Linked DNA regions of Homo sapiens: region 1 is linked to region 2. The links are contacts of gene promoters, found by promoter capture Hi-C in blood cells and fetal thymus (Javierre and others, 2016). All regions are on one chromosome and are shown on one strand. The core of a region is centred on a gene start or on the middle of the fragment in contact, and the rest is flanking DNA. Distances in the headings are between cores, read along the strand shown. Region 1 overlaps HIF1AN (hypoxia inducible factor 1 subunit alpha inhibitor). Region 2 holds the start of PKD2L1 (polycystin 2 like 1, transient receptor potential cation channel).

Region 1 (5,816 bases), core at 531-3,030, 210 kb before region 2:
GGGCGCCCGTAGTCCCAGCTACTTGGGAGGCTGAGGTGGGAGAATGGCGTGAACCTGGGAGGCGGAGCTTGTAGTGAGCCGAGATCGCGCCACTGCACTCCAGCCTGGGCGACAGAGCGAGACTCTGTCTCAAAAATAAATAAATAAATAAAAACAATAAAGTTGAATTTACACTAAAAAAATAAGTTTCTCCTCTTTCACAGGGACAAAAATTGTCTGAATATAGACAGATCTAGTAGAGAAAAGTGGTACAGTCATGTGCCACATGATGACATTTTAGTCGACAACAGATTGCATCTACGATAGTGCTCCCATAAGATTATGATGGAGCAGCCCTATACAGGTATACCGTTTTTTATCTTTTTTTTTTTTGGCAATAAAAAAATTCCCAAACTACCATTTTTTAACCTTTATATACTTTTTTCTTTTGTCACCTTTTTCCTGCAGTATCTGATACCGTACTTTTACTATACCTTTTCTATATTTAGGTATGTTTAGATACACAAATACTTACCATTGTGTTAGAATTGACTATAATATTCAGCACAGTAATATGCTAACACCATGTAGTACATGGTTTAGTCAGAGGCTACACCATATAGCCTAGGCATATAGAAGGCTACACAATCTAGGTTTGTGTAACTATACTCTATGGTGTTTGCACAATGATGAAGTCACCTAACAACACATTTCTCAGAACGTATCCCTGACATTAAGCATCACATGTCTGTATTTCAGAGAGGTCCCTAATATCTCAGTATACACACTCACATAACAGCTGAGGAAGGGAAAAGGGAACTTTTTAGAATACACGAAACTAGCTTAAAGACTCGACATAAGCCGGGTATGGTGGCACACGCCTGTAGTGTCAGCTACTTGGGAGCTAAAGCAGGAGAATCACTTGAACACGGGAGGCGGAGGTTGCAGTGAGCCGAGACCACACAACTGCACTCCAGCCTAGGCAACAGAGTGAGACTCTGTCTCAAAAAAACAAAACAACAACAACAAAAAAAAACAGACTCGACATACATTATTTCATTTAATCTTCACAACTTCACAACTATTTACAAGACATTATCATGTTTCATTTCTTTTCATTTTTCCTTTTTTAAGCAATAGGATCTCACTCTGTTGCCCAGGCTGCAGTGCAGTGGTGCAATCATAGTTCACTGTAGCCTCAAACTTCTGGCTTCAAGCAATCCTCCTGCCTTGGCCTCCCAAAGTGCTGGGATTACAAATATGAGCTACCATGCCTGGCCCTATTATGTTTCTTTTTCTTTCTTTTGAGACAGAGTCTTGCTCTGTCGCCAGGCTGGAGTGCAGTGGCGTGATCTTGGCTCACTGCAACCTCCACCGCCTGGGTTCAAGCAATTCCCCTCTCTCAGCCTCCCGAGTAGCTGGGACTACAGGCACGCACCACCATGCCCAGCTGATTTGTTTTCTTTGTATTTTAGTAGAGACGGGGTTTCATGATGTTGGCCGGGATGGTCTCCATCTCCTGACCTCATCATCCACCCACCTTGGCCTCCCAAACTGCTGGGATTACAGGCGTGAGCCACGGCATCCAGCCCCTATTATGTTTCTTTTAGAGCTGAGTAGGCTGAGGCTTAAGAAAGTGAAGTGGCTTGTTCAAAGTCATGGAGCTAATAAGCGGTGAAGACAGGATTAGAAATCAGGTTCATATGACTCCAAGCCATGCTGCTTTTGAAAGATTTCTTACCTTCCATGCCAATGAGCAGCAGGTTAGAGGTAAGCTGCCCCCAGCCACGCTTTCCCTGTTGCTTATTAATCCAGTTCCAGTTAAAACCTAAGAAGTCCATGACAATCTTCCTGCCCACAGTGTCATTGAGCGTTTGCTGCAGATACAACCTATGTTCCCCAAGAAGAAAATCCTATTAGTGCATGCACACACAGCCCCTGGCATGGCCTCTCCACATCTGAAAATCCAAGCCCAAATCCATACCAGCATCTCCCACAGAGAACAGATGTAGTCAGGCAAATTTTAGCCAACATGGATTCTCATACAACTGAATTCTTACTTATCCTTCATTGAGTTATGTTCAACACCAAATTTTTTAATTTACTGGTTTTTCTTTGTTTTGTTTAAAGAAACAAGGTCTCAATATGTTGTCCAGGTTGGTCTTAAACTCTTGGGCTCAAGCAATCCTCCTGCTTCTGCCTCCCAAAGTGCTGGGATTACAGGTGTGAGACACTGCATCTGGCCCCCAAACTTTTTCTTTAAAGAAGTGATGCTTAACCTTTTTTGGGTCACAGAATGACTCCTTTAAGAATCCAAAGAGTAGGAGGGTGAGATGAAAAATAAAATTAAAAAAAAAAAAAAGAACCTGGAGAAGAAGTCCCAGCTACTCAGGAGGCTGAGGCAGGAGAATCACTTGAACCTGGGAGGCAGAGGTTGCAGTGAGCTGAGATCGTGCCATTGCACTCCAGCCTGGGTGACAAGAGCAAGACACCATCTCAAAAAATATAAATACATAAATAAATAAATAAAAGAATCCACGGAGGTTCCCCATAAAAATGCACATACACCCAGAACTTTCACACAATTTCAGACTCCTAGAAGCCTATCCACAGACCCTAGAATGATGAATCAGTCTCACTCCAGAGACTCGCAGAGCCTGAGACATCTCCGTTGGCCCTTGATGACCACTGTGGTAAATTGTATTACTGTTCACCAAGAGCTGGTTCCCTCAGTGTGCGAGTTTTCTTTCACATCCCCTTGAAGCCAGGCTTGCTTATTTACGCTGCTCTGGCCAAGGAAATGTCCACAGAAGCGACTTGTGTTGTTTCCAACTGTAATTTAAGAACAAGTTACCACTACCACATCTCTTTCCTTCTGCCACAGCAACTCCAAAGTTCTAGATAGTAGCTGCTGGGGCAATCTGGGTGCCAGAGCAAGTAAGATGATGTAAAGAACAATATGACATTACCCATGATCAACATGTAGTAAGTGAGAAATAAGCCTCTGTTGTTTCTAGCCCGAGCTCTGGCTTGAAGCCTAGTTTATCTTAACTGATTCAGCCACCTATCCTGTTGCAGCCTTCTACAGCTAAAGTAAGGAAGATAGCTTATTAGGTAAAGGCCTCAGGCTCCTAACATACCTGAGGAAGGTCATAAGTTACTTAAGAGATATGAAAACCCAGACACACTTGAACAAGCCCACAAGAGACATTTAATAAGTGTGCAAACCTAAAAAAAAGACAGAAGCATCTCTGTCCTGGTCCTGAGATCATTATTTCAAAAGGCTCAAAGAGGCCAGGTGCGGTGTCTCACGCCTGTAATCCCAGCACTTGGAGAGGCCAAGGGAGGTGGATTGCCTAAGCTCAGGAGTTCGAGACCAGCCTGGGCAACATGGCAAAACCTTATGTATTTAAATAAATAAATTGGTTATTAAAAATACACAAAATTAGCTGGGCATGGTGGTGGCAGCACATGCCTGTGGTCCCTGCTACTTGACAGGCTGACGTGGGAGGATCGCTTGAGCCTGGGAGGTGAAGGTTGCAGTAAGCTGAGATCATGCCACTGCACTCCAGCCTGGGTGACAGAGCAAGACCCTGTCTCAAAAAAAAAAAAAAAAAAGAAAGGTTCAAAGGCATCTCATCTCACTGCCTAGAATCACAATGTTTAAGGCAATGTTAATCAGAAATCTTTTTTTTTTTTTTTTTTGAGACGGAGTCTCACTGTCACCCAGGCTGGAGTGCAGTGGCGCAATCTTGGCTCACTGCAACCTCTGCCTCCTGAGTTCAAGCAATTCTCCTGCCTCAGTCTCCCAAGTAGCTGAGACTACAGGCACGTGCCACCATGCCCAGCTAATTTTTGTATTTTTAGTAGAGACGGGGTTTCACCACGTTAGCCACGCTGGTCTCGAACTCCTGACCTCAGGTGATCTGCCTCCCGAAGTGCTGAGATTACAGGTGTGAGCTACCATGCCCAGCCTTAATAGGAAATCTTGATGAGTTGGAAACACTACCTTTGTAGGAACATGAAATCCTCAAGACTCAATGCAACGCTCCCCAAAGATAATAATTATATATTCACCCAAAAAATATGCAAGTAACTTTGAAAGAGTCAGTGATACTGCCCATATATGAATCTAAACAATATTATGATTACACCAGAATGGTTAATGCTCAAAATAGCTCAGAGGATCCTAATACATTTCACCCCATAGTCGCCACAACCTGTCCAATCAGGTTGAAGTGAAGCTGACTGGTGAAGCTGCTCGGTGCTAAAGTCAGCTGATAGGGTAAAACTTCCAAACAATTAAAGATTTTCCTTGAAAACTCTTTAATCACCCATAAAGTACAGATTACACTCATTCTTATGCAAAATGCTCTCACTATGGGACACAAGAAACTTCAAGCGACTGAAGAACCACAAGATTCACATATCTTATGCTTATTCTTGGGTATATGTTCATTCAATGGAATTACACACTCCAACAGCATCATTTAAATCAATCTTTCTCTCAATGTTGGGTGTGTGTATATGGAAGTGTGCACACACACACTGTGTTAAATTTTAGAAAATTAATGCATGAGATAACTGAACCAATATATTAAGACATCATGGACAGATCGACCACAGTTCATATCTTGGAAACTCTTCTGGTCAAAAATCCCATCATTATGACAACTGCTAAGTGTTAAGAAGAAGAAAAAAAGATATTTCAAATCCATTCACTTAGCCACAGACTGCTGATAAGGAGTCAGGAACAGGAGTGAGTGAAGCAAGAGACTAGAGAGAAACCCAGGGTTGGACACCAAATGCGAGAGGGTAATTCACCGTGAAGTACTGAGCGAAAGCAATTCCCCAGAGGCAGTGTTATAGTGTGGGACTGAATACTGTCTCGGACCTACATAAGAGGCTGTCCTCATAAGCAGGAATAAAAGCAGAGAGGAAGAATCACTGTCTTGTGTGTCTTGTGTTGCTGTTGTGATAGGAAAAACAAATTTAATCTGATCTTCCCTAAGCTAGAGAATCCTAACCTTCTTTACTGCAGAATCACAACAAACTATACAACTTTTCAGGTTGAACTATCCTCAGTCATCACAATACTTAAGGACAATGGCTACAAACAGGCATTTTCAGAGCTAAATCCAGTGACAAACATTTTTGTTTGGCCCCCTGCAACTTTTTTTCTTTAAATCTGATTTAGTTGCTCCATTTAAAGTCAAAAGATTTTAAATAAAAATCCTGATTTTGAACTTCTCTTGAAAATCGGAATATCTCCCAACCCTAGAACTGCACTCCAAAACTGAAGCAAGCAGAGTCAAGTAATGACCTCTCACCATGGTTTTTTGTTTTAGTTTTTAATTTTGCAGAGACTAGCTCTCACCACGTTTCCCAGGCTGGTCTTGAACTCCTGGACTCAAGCAATCCTCCCACCTCGGCCTCCCAAAGTGCTGGGATTACAGGCATGAGCCACCCCCGCCGGCCTTGGCTTCTCACTTTGAACAAGGCTTATGCCTTCAGCCTCATCACTGATTTCACACAGACGATATTACTCCTTCCATTCACCTGCCTGACCCTTCTAGGCAACTAACTCTTTATGAGGAAGAAGATGGGAACCCAGAGATTCATAGCTCAAGTTTAATCATTCCCTCATCCCTCAAGCTACAGAACTAGCTGGCTGTAGCACCAAGAACCACTAAGAACTCAAACCCCTTAAAGGCTGGAAGACCAGACTACTCCTTCAACTGGAATCCAGAGATGGGAGAGGCCAATCTCTAATTGACCCAATTCTGCCACACCTTCAAACAAGTATAGGAAAGAAAAATGAGTGTCCTAAATCCAAC
Region 2 (5,166 bases), core at 1,390-3,889:
GGCTCAAGCAATCCTCCTGCCTCAGCCTCCTGTGTATTTGGGATCACAGACATGCATTACCATGCCCAGCTAATTTTTTGATTTTTTTGTAGAGACAGGGTCTCACTTTGTTGCCCAGGCTGGTCTTGAACTCCTAGTCTCAAGCTCGGCCTCCCAAAGTGCTGATGTTAGCCACTGTGCCTGGCCCATTTGCTCCATTTTTTAAAGTTTTATTTTATTTTTAATTGATAAATAATAATTCTATATACTTATGAGGTACAATGTGACATTTTGATACATGTATACATTGTGGAGTGATCAAATCAGGTGAATTAGCATATTCATTACTTCAAATATTTATCATTTCTTTGTAGTAAGAACTTTTTAAATCCTCTCTGTTAGCTATTTTGAAGTACACAGTACCTCATTATCAACTGTAGTCACCACACTGTGCAACAGAACAACAGAACATATTTCTCTTGCCTGATTGAAAGCTTTTATCCATCGACCACTCTCTTCCCCTCTCACACACCCCTCACCCCCAGCCTCTGGTAACCACCATTCTACTCTCTACTTCTACGAGTTCAATTTTTTTAGTTTCCACATATAAGTGAGAGCATAGGGCATCTGTCTCATTATGCCTGGCTTATTTCACTTAACATAATGTTCTCTAGGTTTATCTATGTTGTCGTAAATGACAGAATTTTCTGTGTTTTTTTTTTCAAGGCTGAATATATTATATTGTGCATATATACCACATCTTTTAAATCCTTTCGTCAGTTGATGGATACTTAGATTGTTTCCATATCTTGGCTATTATTAATAATCCTGCAATGAACATGGGAGAGGAGACATCTATTCAACACACTGATTTCAATTCCTTTGAGATTCTTGGAACATATGGTAATTCTATTTTTAGTTTTTTGAGGAACCTCCATACTGTTTTCCAAGATGTCCGTACTAATTTACAATACAGCCAAGCATACAAGGGGCCCCTTTTCTCCACAGCCTTGCCAACACTTGTTATCTTTCTTTCTTTCTTTTTTCTTGAGACAGGGTCTTGCTCTGTTGCTCAGGCTGGAGTGCAGTGGTGTGATTTCAGCTGACTGCAGCCTCAACGCCTCAGCCTCCCCAGCTCAAGTGGTTCTCCCACCCCAGCCACCTGAGTAGCAGCTGGGACTACATGCACGCACCCCATGCCTGGCTAATTTTTGTTGTTTTGTTGTTGTTTTGTAGAGGCGGTGTTTCACCATGTTGCCCGGGCTGGTCTTGAACTCCTGAGCTCAAGTGATCCTCCTGCCCTGGCCTCCCAAAGTGCTGGAATTACAGGTGTGGGCAACCACACCCAGCCAAGATCTCTTTATAGGGACACTCAAGACTGATTATTTTGACAAGGCTGATGTTTTGCTGAATGTGAAGGTGGGCTTCAGGCCAGTGAGTAGCCCTGGGTGGGGAGCCAGGAGTTAGGAGAGGAAAGTCTCTGCTCTAGCCTCAAGGAGGAGAAACTGCAGGGTGACCACCACAACCTGTGGGATCAGCCCCATTCTGGGGCATCATGCATGCCTATAGGGGAGCTGGAGCAGGTGATCAGAAGCTGGAGCAGGGCATAGGCAGGGATGTGCTTGGGGGCCCATGACACAGTTTTAATTCAGAGACCTGCAGTTATAAAGAAAGCAGATTAATCCTGATATCATGGATAGTTCCACTTTGTGCTCAAGTTTACGATTCTAGGCCCAGGACTAAGCAGAGCCATGGGAAAAGGTTCCCAGCTCAGCTGGGTCCAGATATCCACTCCCCTTTAGTCCCACATCATACTGTCCTTGTCCTTTGTTCTCCGATCCAGCCTCCCAACCAGGTCTTAGCCTTTTTCCCATACTGAGCCCCACACCCTTAAGGAACCCCCTCTCTTGGTGTATCTCACCTGTAAGCCATGGAAAGGCAAGCTTCAGAACAAGGAATATAGACAACCTAGGACTCTGTGGTCCTCTCCCCTGCCCCCTCAGTGCCCTGAAGTATGTGAGACTGGGGTTCCTCCTGCCACTGTCCTTTCCCCACGGCTGAGAGGGTGAAGTGAGGGAAGGGAGCTGCCCATCTCTGCTCCACCAGGGGACAGCTGAAGGTGAGACAGGACAGGAGCCTCAGACCCATTGACTGAACCTGGGAGGTGGGCAGAGCCTGGGAGGGGGACAGCGCTCTTCAGCTTTCCTCCCAGCCTTGGTCCCCACCCCAATCCATGTCGGCCCTTTTAGGAGCTTTTAGTGGAAATGAGCTCAGACCCGCAGCACAGGCCCCCGGCTCCCCTCCTGTCTCAGCTCCTCCCATTGCTCTTTGATCGTCTCTTCTGTCCGACCTCTGGGCCATCTCTCCACCAGGCACATCTGCGAGCAGCCCCCTTCATCCCCAGCATCGCCTTTTCCTCCCGTTTCTCCTTCCACTCCCAGCTCCACATCCTCCTCCTATTCTCCCCTCTCCCCTCTTCAAACCCCCACCTTCCAGTTCCCTCACCTCCCCTTTCGGCTGGTCCCCTGGGGCTTGCAGCAAGAGGGAGAGAGAGCTCCTGACAGGATTGATGGTCCTTCCCCACCCTGTCCTCTCATCCGCTCCCTCCCCAGCAGGCACAGACATCCCCCTACAAAAGGCAGGAGCCCAGGCTGTGTGGAAACAGCTGCTCTCAGACGCCTTTCCATTTGCTCTCTGCTGGCTAGGCTGGGCTGTGCCTCTGCTCCCTCTTCCTCTAGCTGAGAGTGGGCACCTGGGGTACCGGGCCCCCCCACCTCATTCCCCATGAATGCTGTGGGAAGTCCTGAGGGGCAGGAGCTGCAAAAGCTGGGGAGTGGAGCCTGGGACAACCCCGCCTACAGTGGTCCCCCTTCCCCACACGGGACGCTGAGAGTCTGCACCATCTCCAGCACGGGGCCTCTCCAGCCCCAACCCAAGAAGCCTGAAGATGAACCCCAGGAGACGGCATACAGGACCCAGGTGTCCAGCTGCTGCCTCCATATCTGTCAAGGCATCAGAGGTACCAGATAGGGGGACAGTTCTCCTGGGATATTAGAATCAGGAGGAGTCACCAAAAGCTTTTGGGCAGGGGGTGGGGGTGGAATGTGATCTGAAGAAGAGGTGACCTTTCGGTGTCACTTTGGGGTGTATGAATTGCCCATGGTAGTGCTGCATGACCCAGAACACAGAGGCCAGCTGAGCGGTCTACCGGTTGTGGGAGCCTGGCATGGTCATCACCTGGGGATCCAGAGAGGTATGTGGGAGCTGGTTTGAGGGAGGACATGGATGTGATGATGCCCTAGACTACCCCACCTGGAACAGGTGCCTCCTTTCCATGCCTTCATTCTCTACAAGCCAGGGCCTTCACCCCTGTCGACCTCAGGGAGCTGATGGGAAGAGCAAGCATGGGTGTGGGTACAGTAGCCAGATTCAGCCAAGGATGAAGGTGATGGGCAAGGAAGGGCAGGGGTGGAAAGGGGCTAAAGTCCAGAGACAGATGGGTGGGGATGACTGGGAGGAACACTGCCACTGAGCATCCCAGGCATCTCTCCCATGCCCCTTAGGACTTTGGGGAACAACCCTGACTGAGAACACAGCTGAGAACCGGGAACTTTATATCAAGACCACCCTGAGGGAGCTGTTGGTATATATTGTGTTCCTGGTGGACATCTGTCTACGTGAGTAGCATCTGTGTTTGTGTACATCTGTCTGTGAGAAACATCTATGTGTGCACTATATGTATAAACATTCCTGTGGGCAACATCTGTGGAGCGAGCATCTATCTGTGTAAGCAGGCTATATCCGGGAACTTTAGATAACAATATTCCAATCCCATCTATTTACCTTTGCAGCTTAAGATATTTTGTTTAAAAGGAATTTGTCAGTAGAGGAAGGCAGTTTGGTCAAGAATTACAAGGGGAAACCAGTTTTTGGCAGCCATTGTTTTCTATTGGCTGAAAAGGTGAAAGGTGAAAATATTTTACCCTTCTGTAGAGAGTGGGCTGGCACGGTGGCTCACGCCTGTAATCCCAGCACTTTGGGAGGCCGAAGTGGGCACATCACCTGAGGTCAGGAGTTTTGAGACCAGCTTGGCCAACATGGCGAAACCCTGTCTCTACTAAAAATACAAAAATTAGCTGGGTGGCAGGTGCCTGTAATCCCAGCTACTCAGGAGGCTGAGGCAGGAGAATCGCTTAAACCCAGGAGCAGAGGTTGCAGTGAGCCAAGATCGTGCCACTACACTCCAGCCTGGGGGACAGAGCAAGACTCTGTCTCTCTGTCTCCAAAAAAAAAAAAGAGTGGAAAACCACTCCCTTCTGTTTGGAAAGATAGTTTGGTGGGCTTCACGTAGTTATTATACTATATCCGATGCATGTTTCTTTAGAGGCAGAGAAAAAGATGGAAGAAAAAAGAGAGGAAGTAAAAGATCCAGGCGACCTTAGATCTCAGATCCCTGTTAAGAGAGGGAGGGAAACACATGGTATGGTGATGGTCCCATGTGAGAGACCACCATGTCACATGCCATTGGAGGAAGCTTATTGAGGCTCTAGCTATAGACACAAACTGAGAAATTTTGATCTCTAAGTTGAGAGAAGCAAGTGAAAAGATAGGAGGGCGACTGTGGGAAGATAGAGTCAAAGAACCGTAAATAATAATAAAATTGGACCAAACAGATGCTATTAGACTTGTAGGTAATGACAGCAACTTTGTATTTGGTTTATTACTTCTTTCAAAAGTTGCACAAGTGATGTTTGCCTAGTTTAATATAGTTGTGTGTGGGGTTGTGTTTTGATTAAAGCTGTAGGTTGAATCGTACAACTAAGATGCCCTCATTAGTAGGTGTTCTAGGCTCCGCAATACTCTGTTCTTGTCAGGGTGCATAAATCTTTTGAAAGTGGAGTCAAAGAGTCTCATAACATTAATGTTGATGAAATGTTGTCTTATTTTTTGAGCCACCCACATTTGTGCAAGCCCTCTAGGAAAGCTGGCAGAAAGCACTTTGTTCTGGCTGTGCTCTATCGGAACTCATTCCATGCTGGACAGAGGGGACAGTCCTCTGTGTTTGTCACTGGCCACTCTGCAGGGAGTGAAAGGACACAGTGCATGTGAGGAACAACGGCCGGCCCAATGTACATATTGTGGGGCCCTTTCAATTCCTTTCAGCAAATGGCTGTCAGAAATTCATTT

What was found. The method cuts DNA at HindIII sites, captures the fragments that hold promoters and counts their contacts. A CHiCAGO score of 5 or more calls a contact.
Region 1: a fragment that was not itself captured here is called in contact with the fragment with the promoter of PKD2L1 in region 2 in 1 of 17 cell types (naive CD8 T cells); the score reaches 5.2 in naive CD8 T cells.

Annotation. Positions count from the first base shown.
Region 1 is chr10:100,536,687-100,542,502 of GRCh38, reverse strand. It overlaps HIF1AN (hypoxia inducible factor 1 subunit alpha inhibitor), which reads right to left. Exons shown (of 8, transcript NM_017902.3): 3 at 1,721-1,869. Among named protein-coding and RNA genes, the nearest start is that of HIF1AN, 3.7 kb to the right of the region's middle. The HindIII fragment of the contact is 8,099 bases long and covers 1-5,816 here.
Region 2 is chr10:100,327,701-100,332,866 of GRCh38, reverse strand. It overlaps PKD2L1 (polycystin 2 like 1, transient receptor potential cation channel), which reads left to right and starts at 2,639. Exons shown (of 16, transcript NM_016112.3): 1 at 2,639-2,998; 2 at 3,543-3,656. The coding sequence starts at 2,764. The HindIII fragment of the contact is 1,134 bases long and covers 1,925-3,058 here.